Regions from separate parts of the Homo sapiens genome. Here region 2 is linked to region 1. Evidence: promoter capture Hi-C in human tissues and cell types (Jung and others, 2019). All regions are on one chromosome and are shown on one strand. Each heading gives the region's core, a stretch centred on a gene start or on the middle of the fragment in contact. The rest is flanking DNA. Distances are from core to core; before and after follow the strand shown.

Region 1 (6,763 bases), core at 2,072-4,571:
AGCGATTCTCCCACCTCAGCCTCCTCGGTAGCTGGGATTACAAGTGTGTGTCACCACACCTGGTTAATTTTTGTATATTTGGTAGAGACAGGGTTTCACCAGGTTGGCCAGGCTGGTCCCCAACTCCTGACCTCAAGTGATCTGCCTGCCTCGGCCTCCCAAAGTGCTGGGATTACGGGCGTGAGCCACAGCGCCCAGCCTCTTCCAATCACTCTTGCCCAAATCCTAACCAGCTTCCACCTGCCCACGCTGAGGCTACCCTGATTTTCCTTCTCTGTGGTCTCTCTTCTCTGTGCTCCTCTCACCCCCATCGCTGCACCTTTAGCACAGAGTCTCAGATTAAAGGGAACCTCAGAGCTCCCCCTGCCAACCCCTGTCACGCACACCTGTGGGCTCAGGGTCAGACTGCATTAGTCTCTGAGCCAGGAGGACACAGGTCCAGATGATCCCCACCGGAGCCCCATGCTGCCATCATCCTGACGGCTCTTGATTGTGAGGATGTCTAGTCTCCATGGCTAGACTTCAAGTATTTTGGAGGCCCTGGCCACACTTGACCCTTCCTGATCCACCCACAGCTCACAGCAGGCCCAAAGGTGGGCACAGGAGGAACCCACAAAACTCTGCTTTTGAGCCAGGCATGGTGGCTCATGCGTGCAATCCCAGCACTTTGGGAGGCCAAGGCAGGAGGATGGCTTGAAGCCAGGAGTTCAAGACCAGCCTGGGCTAAAAAGCAAAACCTCCATCTCTACAAAAAAGTTTTTTTAAAAATTAGCCAGGTGTGGTGGCACATGCCTGTAGTCCCGGCTACTCAAGAAGCTAAGGCAAGAGGCTTGCTTGAGCCCAGGAGTTTGAGGCTGCCAATGAGCTATAATTGCACCTCTGCACTCCAGCCTGGGCAACAGAGTGAGACCCTGTCTCTAAAAAGAAAACAAAAACAGGCTGGGTGCAGTGGCTCACACCTGTAATCCCAGCTCTTTGGGAGGCCGAGGTGGATGGATCACGAGGTCAGGAGATCAAGACCATCCTCGCCAACATGGTGAAACCCCGTCTCTACTAAAGATACAAAAATTAATTGGGCATGGTGGCACACACCTGTAGTCCCAGCTACTCGGAAGGCTGAGGCAGGAGAATTGCTTCAACCTGGGAGCTGGAGGTTGCAGTGAGCCGAGATCATGCCAGTGCACTCCAGCCTAGTGACAGAGCGAGACTCCATCTCAAAAAAAAAAAAAGAAAACAGAAACAAAAAAATCTCTGCTTGTATGAGTGACACCAACAATCCCCAGACGAATAGATGCCTGTCCCCTCTCCCAAAGTGCTCACACATACTAGCACAGAGACAAATATTTGCTGGCCCTTTCCATAGTCACTGCAGGGCAAGTGACCCCATAGCCTGCATGTTTGGTCCAGTATGAATGTCTGAACCCAGCCCCTTTGTGTATCCAGGGACAGGTGACGAGTGTCTTGGTAGGGAAGGCTAAGATGCACTGAGGTGAGAGACAGGCCTGCCATGCAGTTTGTTTTTCTAGATAAATTCCACACAGTCTTCTCCAGATGAGAAAGAGGATCTTGAGCTTTCTGGGGCCTCATGGATACAACCTGTGGATCTCAGAGTTGCTACCCTGGGGGGCAATCACACAGTCCTGGGTTCAACTCTGGCTTAACCACTTCCTAGCTGTGTTAGGCAGTTTCCTCATCTGCAAAACAGGAGTGCGAGCTTCCCTACAAGGTTAATATCATGATTAGAAATGAGATATGAAAACCCCCTGGCACAGTGTCTGGCACATAATGACCACACCGCCACCACCACCACCATCATCATCACTATTATTCCTCCAAGGCAAAGGGTCAAATTCTGGTAGCCAAAGAGAGCTGCCACTTCAGATGTGAGCTTACAGAGGCCTGGGTTCTAGTACCTTCCCTGCCACTTTCCAGCAGCAGGATCCTGGGCTAGTCACATCCCCCTTGTAGGTCTGTTTCTTCCATTGTAAAACTGGGGGAGGGTGAAGAAAGAGATCTGTATAGGTCCCTTCCTGTCTGGCACCCTCTATCTTATGTGCAGCTTAGGGGGATTGGCCTGGTTTGTATTGGCAAACAGCCAGGAGTTCCAATGGGAAGCCAGCAGACACTGCATAGGGTCAGGCCAGAGAAGGTTAAGTTAGAATGAAATCAAGTCCAGTCTCATCTCTTCCATCCACCTCCCATCCGGCACCCTCTTTCTGGCCACATCCAATACCCACTGAGCTACCTGAGCCTTTGCCCATGCTGGGTCTTTGTCCAGAATTCTCTGCCACACACCCCAATGCTCCATTGGTACACATTCTTCGCAGGCCCACTCAAGTGATCCTCCGCCCCAGGCAGAACCATGTACCTAATCTTGATTGAGCATTCCCACCCCCAACACATCCCTCAGCTGAGTAGATGCAGTGTGCCAGCATTTTGGACACTATAGGTCTCAAAGGAATCCAGTGAGCTGCACTATGCGCTTTTGAGGGAAAGCCCCGGGATTCAGCTGTCAGGATTCAGCCAGGGCTGCAGGATCAAGGACTCACAGTGCAGACACCGACACAATCTTTCTCTCCCCTCTCCCAGACGGTGCAGCCAAAGCTGCCCCAGGCCAGCTGATGCCCACACAGACGCTGCTGCCCGGCCTAGAGGCCCTGGCACTGGGCGCACTCCTTGAGGGAGGTTCGGAGGTGCCCTCATTCCACCTGTGGCCAGTCAGGCTCCTCTCCTCTGAGTGCGTGCCCCATCTGATGCGGTCTCCACTCGCTATCCAGCCCCAGCATTCCGGGTGAGCTGGGCCCTTCAGCACTTCTACCACTCAATGGCTGTGTGACCTTGAACAACTCATTTGAACACCCTGTGCCTCAGTTTCTCATCTGCGAAATGAAGATAACATAATGTCCTACCCATATGGCCGCAGCGAAGATCAAATGACGTGCCTCTCCTGGGTCAAGGCCTGGCACACAAAGTACAGCACGCAGTCAAGGATCGCTATTACCTTTATTATTTGTAGCTAACCTCTCAGCCGCTGCTCCCCGCTCACCTGGCGGGTGTGGTCCCCGAGTCCCAGACGCACTGGCAAGGTCCCCTCGGCCCAGTGCGCGGACCGGTAACCATTCCGCTCGGAGCCACACAGACGCCCCACACGGAGGTGGCCGTTCGGAGGGCGCCAACCTCACCCCTGGCACTCCCCAAACGGATGCGGGGGTCCTCTCGGCCTCGGCCCGCCCCCCTCCCTCCTCCAGGCAGACTCACGGCCGTCGGTCTCCCACGCCAGCTCCTCCTGCATCCTGCCGCTCCGCAGCCCCTGCGCGCGCTGGTGCCCGGGCGCGAGGCGCGCGTCCGCCGGGGCGGGGCCCGGGGAGCCGAGAGGACGGGGCGGTCGCTCCTCCAGACTCCACGCCCCGCCTGCTAGGAGCGCAGCTGCCCCGGCCACCCCAGTCCCGGACCAGGACGCAGGTCCCTCCTCCTGCTCTCTTAACCTGCCCACCCCTCCGCGCCCGAGGCCGGCGGGTCGGGGCCACGCCGAGTTCCGCAGGTGTCCCTGACCCAGTCTCCTCCCCGGGAGTTCGCCCAGCCTCCCCGGCCCTGGAGATAGATGCGCACAAGGCATCTGGCAGGCTCATCCTCCTCGCGCCTCTCGGGACTCGGGGAGGAGGGCTGAGCCTTGGGCCCGCCGCCTCAGGCGCAGAAAGTCAAACCCCAAAGATGTGAGCTGGCGTTTAAGGGACCACAACCTCAGCAGGTCTGCAAGCATATGAAGAGATGGTCGGATTTATCAGTGTTCAGAAAGATTTATCAGGCCCATAAAGGGACATGTAGGAGGATGTTGGTTGCTGTGTTGCTGTGGTTGCTGGGAGTTGGAGACAATCTAAGCGCCCTTTCTTGTAAGAGCAGATGGATAAACTGTGCAGCACTCAAAGCAAGGGACCCGCTGTATTCGTGGCAATATGGATTTAAACACCTAGTGCTAGGCAGAAAAAGTAAATAACCAAACCAAATAAGACCTAGGAAACAATATCAATAAAAATATTACAAATGCATTTACATCAAACAACACAGACTTGCAAAGACACATAGAAACAAAAAGATACACATTAAATACACCAGAATGGGTTGCACTTCAGACCCTTGGGGGATGTCCATGTCCTTTTTGCCTTAAAGGCATTTACAGCTTCTTTGAATTTAGGGATAATGGGGTCTCAGGCATCTCTATCCCAAGGCAAGAAGCCAGCAAAGCCATGATAGGTGTAGTTACTACTACTTTGGGGATCAAAGGAGGAAGAGCATCTTTCAGTCATTAGTCCTTAGAATATAGTTCAAGAAGGCTTCCTGAAGAAGGAGGTATTTGGAATGGCCTTTGAAAAATAACATAATGATAACAGCTAACAATTAATGAGCCCTGAGCCAACCCCTCAAAATGGTCTCAAAATAACAATTCCAACATAATAATCAAAGATATGATTTTTTTTTTTCTGAGACAGAGTCTCACTCTTTCGCCCAGGCTGGAGTACAGTGGTATGATCTCGGCTCACTGCAACCTCTGCCTCCTGGGTTCAAGCAGTTCTCCTGCCTCAGCCTCCCATGTAGCTAGGATTACAGGCACTCGCCCCCACACCTGGATAATTTTGTATTTTTAGTAGAGATGGGGTTTCACTATGTTGGTCAGGCTGGTGTTGAACTCCTGACCTCAGGTGATCCACCTACCTTGGCCTCCCAAAGTGTTGGGATTACAGGTGTGAGCCACTGCGCCGCACCCCCCCCTTTTTGTTTTTGTTTTTTTTTTAAGACAGAGTCTCACTGTGTTGCCCAAGCTGGAGTGCAGTAGCGTAATCTCAGCTCACTGCAACCTCTGCCTCCCAGGTTCAAGCGATTCTCATGCCTAAACCTCCCAAGTAGCTGGGACTACAGGTGTGTGCCACCACACGCGGCTGATTTTTGTATTTTTAGTAGAGACGGGGGTTTCACCATGTTGGCCAGGCTGGCCTCGAACTCCTGACCTCAGGTGATCTACCCACCTAGGTCTCCCAAAGTGCTTGGCCACCACGCCTAGCCAAAGATATTATTCCTGAAAACAGTTTAAATGTTTTTTGTAAAGCTTTTGTCACATGTACATCCCACTAGGGGCATAGTGTCACGTTACTGTTTTAGTCACTTGGAATAGTTCTTTATGTGGTTATGCCACCAACTCAACATGCATGGTTTATTTATTTTGTTTTGCTTTTGTTTTTTGATATTTTTAAATGTTAATTTTGCTTTACAATTATGTAAAGTATTTACATGTTTCAAAGTTAAGTCTCTGAAGGTTGTCATAGTCAGCTGTGGTGATGGATGAAGAGGGCACCACTGGCTTCCAGCCTGCTGTCACTCTCCTTCACTCCACATCCAGCTTTTCTTCCCAGCTGCTGAGCCTGCTGACCAACAGTGGCCCCAGGCCATCGCGGACTTGGCTGCAGACCCAGGGCATTAGTACCACCCATAGACCTCCCCAGGAGCTTTCCCTTGTGGTTCCATTTTAGCAGCTGGACATACTTGGTTTCTCAGATGACTGACTAAGGACTCCTCTGATCCCCAACTCCCCTTCTGGTCCTTCCGCAACTGTGTAAGGCAAATTACTATCACAGATCCCTAATCCCAGGGGTCTCCAACCCCCAGGCTTCAGACTAGTACTGGTCTATGGCCTGTTAGGAACTGGGCCACACAGCAGGAGGTGAGCAGCAGGAGAGCGAGCATTACCACCTGAGCTCCGCATCCTGAAAGATCAGTGGTGGCATTAGATTCTCATAGAAGGGTGAACCCTATTGTGAACTGTGCATGTGAGGAATCTAGGTTGCACACTTCTTTTTTTTTTTTTTGAGATGGAGTTTTGCTCTTGTTGCCCAGGCTGGAGTGCAATGGCTCACTGCAATCTCTGCCTCCCGGGTTCAAGCAATTCTCCTGCCTCAGCCTCCCATGTAGCTGGGATTATAGGTTTGCGCCACCATGCCCGGCTAATTTTGTATTTTTTTAGTAGAGATGGGGTTTCACCATGTTGGTAAGGCTGGTCTCAAACTCCTGACCTCAAGTGATCCACCTGCCTCGGCCTCCCAAAGTACTGGGATTACAGGCGTGAGCCACCATGCCCAACCTAGGTTGCACACTTCTTATGAGAATCTAACTAATGCCTGATCATCCGAAGGGGAACAATTTTATCCCAAAACCATCCCCCCACCACCCAAGTCCTGTAAAAAATTGTCTGCCACAAAACTGGACCCTAGTGCCAAAAGGTTGGGGACCAGTACCCTAAACCCATAACCTCAACATGATTCTGCTTCCTTCACTGCATCCTGACTGACAAAATAACATTTGTGTTGTTGATGCTTACCCTTATATTGTTTAATTTAATCATATATTCTCCCTTTACTGCAGTAGCATACTATATATCATCTTCTTACTTTGCCCTGCCCCTTAAAATTCACCCATTTAAGTGTATAATTCAATGGTTTTTAGTACAGTATCGTTCAGAGTTGTATAACTATCACCACTAAATATTTTCATCACCCCAGAAAAGAAAGCCCATATGCTTTAGCTATCACCCCCCCTTGCAGTTTACCCTCCCCAACCCTCCACACACAGCCCTAGGCAACTACAAATCTACTTTCTTTCTCCATAGATTTGCCCGTTCTGAACATTCTTCTGGCTTTATTCTGGGAACAATCTACTACAGAGATCTCTCCGCAGTAGTCTGTTGAGATCTTCCTGCATCCTTTGTACAGCCTCA
Region 2 (6,763 bases), core at 1,640-4,139, 190 kb after region 1:
GTTTCACCATGTTGGTCAGGCTGGTCTCAAACTCCTGACCTCAGGTGATCCACCCCCGTCGGCCTCCCAAAGTGCTGGGATAACAGGCATGAGCCACCTTGCCCAGCCTTAATTTTTGTATTTTTAGTAGAGACGGGATGTCACCGTGTTGACCAGACTGGTCTTGAACTCCGGGTCTCAAGTGATGCTCCCTCCTTGGCCTCCCAAAGTGTTGGGATTACAGGTGTGAGCCACTGTGCCTGGCTACAAAAAGAATTTTCTAAGGGCAGGTGGGCTTATGTTTAAGGGAATCAATTTCCAAAAAGTCTTTTTTTTTTTCTTTTTTTTTTTTCGACAGAGTCTCACTCTGTCACCCAGGCTGGAGTACAGTGGCTTGATTTTGGTTCACTGCAGCCTTGACTTTCCCGGCTCAGGCACTTCTCCCACCTCAGCCTCCCAAGTAGCTGGGACTATAGGCACGTGCCACCACACCTGGCTAATTTTGTTCATTTTTTGCAGAGGCAGGGTCTCACTATGTTGCCCAGGCTGGTCTCAAACCCCTGGACTCAAGTGATCCTCCTGCCTCAGCCTCCCAAGGTGCTGGGATTACAGGTGTGAGCCACTGTGCCCAGTGTCATCTTTAATAAGAACTATTTATGACTGAGATTGCCTGTCCTCCCTTCGTTTTTACAATTTCTTTTCTCTTACTTTACAAAAGAAATATGTAGGAAGCATGAGTGCTTCCCCTCTCTTTTTTCTGTTCTCTTCCCTCCGAGTGTTTTCCCACCTTTTAGAAGTTAGGCGTGGCCGTGTGACTTGCTTTGGACAGTGAACTATGAGCAAAAGTGTCTCTTCTGGGTAGAAGCATTTACGAGCCAGTATGTGATTCTCCTTCTTACCTTCTCTCTGCCATGGTGACTGATGACATTTTAGCTGGTAGAGTCTGGATCTCTGAGTGATGATGGTATGGATCAGAACCTCAACCAACTTGTGATGGACATTAGAGTGTTGGGGAAGATGGGGAGGAACCTTTGTTGGCTTAAGCAACATAGATTTTGATGTTGGTTGTTATTATAGCATAATTTAGTGGATATGCTACAAAGGACATATATGTCTCACCCATCCTATATCTTTTTTTTTCTGAGATGGAGTCTTGCTCTGTCACCTGGGCTGGAGTGCAATGGCACGATCTCAGCTCACTGCAACCTCCGCCTCCCGGGTTCAAGTGATGCTCCTGCCTCAGCCTCCTGAGTAGCTGTGATTACAGGCATGTGCCACCACGCCTGGCTAATTTTTGTATTTTTAGTAGAGAGGAGTTTTGACATGTTGGCCAGGCTGGTCTCGAACTCCTGACCTCAGGTGATCTGCCCACCTCGGCCTCCCAAAGTGCTGGGATTACAGGCTTTTTTTTGTTTTTTTTTTGAGACAAGTTCTCACCCTGTTGCCCAGACTGGAGTGCAGTGGTGAGATCATGGCTCACTGAAGCCTCGACCTCTCAGGCTCAAGTGATCCTCCCACCTCAACTGCCTGAATAGATGGGATTACAGGCATGTGCCATCACATCTGCCTAATTTTTGTATTTTTATTTTTATTTACTTGTTTATTTTTTTGAGAGAGTCACCCTCTGTCACCCAGGCTGAAGTGCAGTGGCACGATCTCGGCTCACTGCAACCTCTGCCTCCTGGGTTCCAGTGATTCTCCCTCACTCTCCCGAGTAGCTGGGATTAAGGTGCACGCCACCACACCGGGTTAATTTTTTTTTTTTTTTTTTTTGAGATGGAGTCTTGCTCTGTCGCCCAGGCTGGAGTGCAGTGGTTGGGATTACAGGTGCGCACCACCACACCTGGCTATTTTTTTTTTTTTTTTTTTTTTTGAGACATAGTCTCGCTCTGTCACCCAGGCTGGAGTGCAGTGGCTCGATCTCGGCTCACTGCAACCTCCGCCTCCTGGGTTCAAGTGATTCTCCTGCCTCGGCCTCCTGAGTAGCTGGGACTACAGGTGCAAGCCACCATGCCCAGATAATTTTTGTGTTTTTAGTAGAGACGGGGTTTCACCATGTTGGTCAGGCTGTTCTGGAACTCCTGACCTTGTGATCTGCCCGCCTCGACCTCTCAAAGTGCTGGGATTACAGGCATGAGCCACCGCACCTGGCCTAATTTTTTGTGTTTTTAGTAGAGACGGTGTTTTGCTATGTTGGCCAGGCTGGTCTTAGACCTCTTGCCTGAAGTGATCCTCCCGCCTCAGCCTCCCAAAGTGTGGGATTACAGGTGTGAGCCATCGTGCCTGGCTAATTTTTGTATTTTTAGTAGAGATGGGGTTTTGCCATGTTGCTCCGGTTGGTCTCAAACTCCTGGGCTTAAGTGATCCACCTACCTCAGCCTCCCAAAGTGCTAGGATTATAGGCATGAGCCATCATGCCTGGCCCTTCATCCTAGATCTTAGGAGATCTAGTATGTTGTTGATCTGGTATTTGGTATGTTGGAGATCTGGTATTTGGTATGTTGGGAGATCTTGTATTTGGTATGTTGGGAGAGCTGGTATTTGGTATGTTAGGTGATCTGGTATTTGGTATGTTGGAGATCTGGTATTTGGTATGTTGGAGATCTGGTATTTGGTATGTTGGTGATCTGGTATTCGGTATGTTGGGAGATCTGGTATTTGGTTTGTTGGTGATCTGGTATTTGGTTTGTTGGTTGATCTGATATTTGGTATGTTGGGAGATCTGGTATTTGGTATGCTAGGTGATCTGGTATTTAGTATGTTGGAGATCTGGTATTTGGTATGTTGGAGATCTGGTATTTGGTATGTTGGAGATCTGGTATTTGGTATGTTGGTGATCTGGTATTTGGTATGTTGGTGATCTGGTATTTGGTATGTTGGGAGATCTGGTATTTGGTTTGTTGGTGATCTGGTATTTGGTTTGTTGGTTGATCTGATGTTTGGTATGTTGGGAGATCTGGTATTTGGTATATTGTCTTGATGTGTAAAAATCTCTGGGAATTCAAACAGAAACAGTTTGAAATAGTGATTTCAATATTGAGAAAGTGAATGACTCAAATGACTGTATTATAGATCCTTTCTACAAACTAAAGCTTTCCCAATATTTTGCTTTTGAATGGAAGGACCTGAAACAAATTTTGTTGTCATCTGCTTGATGATTAGGTGGTATTGAGTGACTCTGCTAGAACTTCTTCCTTTCCCAGGTACTTATGTGAATAAGATACCTCAGCATTACCATGTGTGAGATTGAAACGTTGAAATAAAATTGAGCCTAGCCAGGTGTGGCGGTATGTACCTGTAGTCCCAGCTACTCAGGAGACTGAGGCAGGAGGATCACTTGAGCCTAGAAGTTTGAGGCTGCAGTGAACTACGATCATGCCTGTGAATAGCTACTGCACTCCAGCCTGGGCAACACAGTCAGACTGTCTCAAAAAAAAAAAAAAAAAAAAAAGACAACAATAACAACGAAAACACAGCCTAAGCATAATGGCTCATACCTGTAATCCCAGCACTTTGAGAGGCCAAGGCTTGAGCCCAGGAGACCAGCCTGGGCAACAAAGTGAGTCCCTGTCTCTACAAAAAATTAGTTGAGCATGGTCATGCACACCTGTATTCCCATGTACGTGGGAGGCTGAGGCAGGAGACTGCCTGAGCCCAAGAGGTCGAGGCTGCAGTGAACCACATTTGCACCACTGCACTCCAGCCTAGGCAACAGAGCAAGACTCTGTCTCAGAAAAACAACCAACCAGCCAACAAAAACATTGATGCTTATCACTGTCTCACTCTAGCATGAGAACATCTCTCTCAATATAAGTTGTATTTCCTATACAATTTTGTGTCTTATATTTAAGAATTCTTGGCCGGGTGCAGTTGCTCACGCCTGTAATCCTAGCTAGCACTTTGGGAGTCTGAGGTGGGTGGATCACCTGAGGTCAGGAGTTTGAGACTAGCCTGACCAACATGGAGAAACCCTGTCTCTACTAATAATACAAAAATTAGCTGGGCGTGGTGGTGCATGCCTATAATCCCAGCTACTCGGGAGGCTGAGGCAGGAGAATCGCTGGAACCCGGGAGGCAGAGCTTGCGGTGAGCTGATATCGCGCCACTGCACTCCAGTCTGGGCAACAAGAGTGAAACTCCATCTTGGGGGAAAAAAAAAATGCTGGGCGCAGTGGCTCACGCCTATAATCCCAGCACTTTGGGAGGCTGAGGTGGGTGGATCACCTGAGGTCAGGTGTTCAAGATCTGCCTGGCCAACATGGTGAAACCCTGTCTCTGCTCAAAATTCAAAAATTAGCTGGGCGTGGTGGCAGGCACCTATAATCCCAGCTACTGGGGAGGCTGAGGCTGGAGAATCGCTTGAACCCGGGAGGCGGAGATTGCTGTAAGCTGAGATTGTGCCATTGCACTCCAGCCTGGGCTGGGCAACACAGCAAGACTGCATCTCAAAAAAAAAAAAAAAAAAAAAAAAGGGATAAAGTACATATTGTATTAGGAAAGCATTATGTGAGAGAAGTAAAAAGAAAATACAAGTTCAAGGAGAAAAAGGAGTGATGTAAAATTTCCTGTGCTAAAGAACAGCTTACTTTTTCTTTTTTTCTTTCTTTCTTTTTTTTTTTTTTTTGAGAGGGAGTCTCACTCTGTCGCCCAGGCTAGAGTGCAGTGGCATGATCTTGGCTCACTGCAACTTCCGACACCTGGGTTCAAGCGATTCTCTTGCCTCAGCCTCCCAAGCAGCTGGGATTACATGCACACGCCACCACGCCTGGCTATTTTTTGTATTTTTAGTAGAGACAGGGTTTCACCATGTTGGCCAGGCTGGTCTCAAACTCCTGACCTCAAGTGATCCGCCCGCCTCTGCCTCTCAAAGCGCTGGGATTACAGGCGTGAGCCACTGCACCTGGCCTCTTTTTCTTTCTTTTTTTTGAGACAGAGTCTCACTCTGTCACCCAGGCTGGAGTGCACTGGGTTGATCTCAACTCACTGCAATCTCTGCCTCCGAGGTTCAAGCAATTCTAATGCCTCAGCCTCCTGAGTTGTTGGGATTACAGGTACGCATCACCATGCCCGGCTAATTTTTGTACTTTTAGTAGAGATGGGGTTTTGCTTTGTTGGCCAGGCTGGACTCAAACTCCTGGCCTCAAGCAATCTGCCCACTGCCTCGGCCTCCCATAGTGCTGGGATTACAGGCATGAGTCACTGTGTCCAGCTTCAATATTTCTAATACAAAAAAAAATTGCAAAGAAATCACATCCTTCGAAACTGTTTTTATATTTTTTTGTAGAGACAGGGTCTCAGTCTATCACTCAGGCTGGAATGCAGTGGTATGATCATTATTCACTGTAACCTTGAGCACCTGGCCTCAAGCAATCCTCCCACCATAGCCTCCCAAAGTGCTTGGATTACAGATATGTCCCACTGTGCCCAGCCTTTTGCAACTATTTAAACATGGTTAAAATTTTTTTTAAATCAAATTTTAAAATTTCCCCTTTTTTTTTTTTTTTGAGACAGAGTTTTGCTCTTGTCTCCCAGGTTGGAGTGCAATGGTGTGATCCCTACTCACTGCAACCTCCGCCTCCTGGGTTCAAGCGATTCTTTGGCCTCACCCTCCCGAGTAGCTGGGATTACAGGCACCTGCCACCACGCCCGGCTAATTTTTGTATTTATAGTAGAGACGGGGTTTCACCATGTTGTCCAGGCTGGTCTTGAACTCCTGACCTCAGGTGATCCACCCACCTCGGCCTCCCAAAGTGCTGGGATTACAGGCGTGAGCCACCATGCCCAGCCTAAAAACTTCACTTTTAAAACAAGCTTTATTGAAGGGGTACATAATTTTTAAAAATGTTTAGGGTATGCATGAGCTAAATTATTGAAAGACTACAGTCTTGAGAGATGAGCTAGAGGTTGCTTGACAAAGGAGGAGGAGAAAGACGTTCTTTGTAGGAGAAAGAGGGTTCTGTGAGTGGACTTGTTCATGGAAGGGAGTAATCTGAGATAAACTGGAAATGTATCCATCCTGGGCAACAGAGAGATACCCTATCTCTACAAAAAATACAAAAAGTAGCTGGGCATGGTGGCATGTACCTGTAGTCCCAGCTACTCAGGAGGCTAAGGCAGGGTGTATCACCTGAGCCCAGGAGGTGGAGGTTGCAGTGAGCTGAGATCACGCTATTGCACTCCAGCCTGGGCACTGGAGTGAGACCATGTCTTAAAAAAAAAAAAAAAAAAGGCCAGGCGTGGTGGCTCACGCCTGTAATCCCAGCACTTTGGGAGGCCGAGGCAGGTGGATCACGAGGTCAGGAGATCGAGACCATCCTGCCTAACACAGTGAAACCCTGTCTCTACTAAAAATACAAAAAAAAAAAAAAAAAAAAAAAATTAGCTGGGCGTGGTGGCAGGTGCCTGTAGTCCCAGCTACTCAGGAGGCTGAGGCAGGAGAATGGTGTGAACTCGGGAGGCGGAGCTTGCAGCCTGGGTGACAAGAGTGAGACTCCGTCTCAAAAAAAAAAAAAAAAAAAACCTGGAAATGTAAGTTGGGGTCAGACTCACAGGAACTAGGCTGAGGCATTTCTGTTTATTATTAATTTTAATTACGCAAGTTTTGCATGATTACAATCTCCTTGTAAAAAACTGAAGCTTTATGAATAGGCCTGGGACTGTCACTTCCATTTCTGGTCTCCAGAGGTGACCTTGGTTTTCAGTTGATGCAAGTTCATCTGGCACATGCTGCAGGTCTCTCTGTGACAGAATGTCCGAGCTAAGGAGTTTTAGCTTCTTCACAGGG

What was found. The method cuts DNA at HindIII sites, captures the fragments that hold promoters and counts their contacts. A contact is called where the count stands out against the background at its distance.
Region 2: a fragment that was not itself captured here is called in contact with the fragment with the promoter of ANKDD1A in region 1 in 1 of the 25 tissues and cell types used here (hippocampus).

What each region holds. Positions count from the first base shown.
Region 1 is chr15:64,908,460-64,915,222 of GRCh38, reverse strand. ANKDD1A (ankyrin repeat and death domain containing 1A) reads right to left here and starts at 3,321. Exons shown (of 15, transcript NM_182703.6): 1 at 3,259-3,321. The coding sequence starts at 3,292. RefSeq lists an enhancer at 2,566-3,109 and silencers at 3,296-3,475, 3,676-3,725, 3,799-4,093. The HindIII fragment of the contact is 17,737 bases long and covers 1-6,763 here.
Region 2 is chr15:64,720,353-64,727,115 of GRCh38, reverse strand. LOC124903507 (a long non-coding RNA gene) reads right to left here. Exons shown (of 3, transcript XR_007064679.1): 3 at 6,547-6,763. Among named protein-coding and RNA genes, the nearest start is that of OAZ2, 20 kb to the right of the region's middle. The HindIII fragment of the contact is 6,629 bases long and covers 1-6,203 here.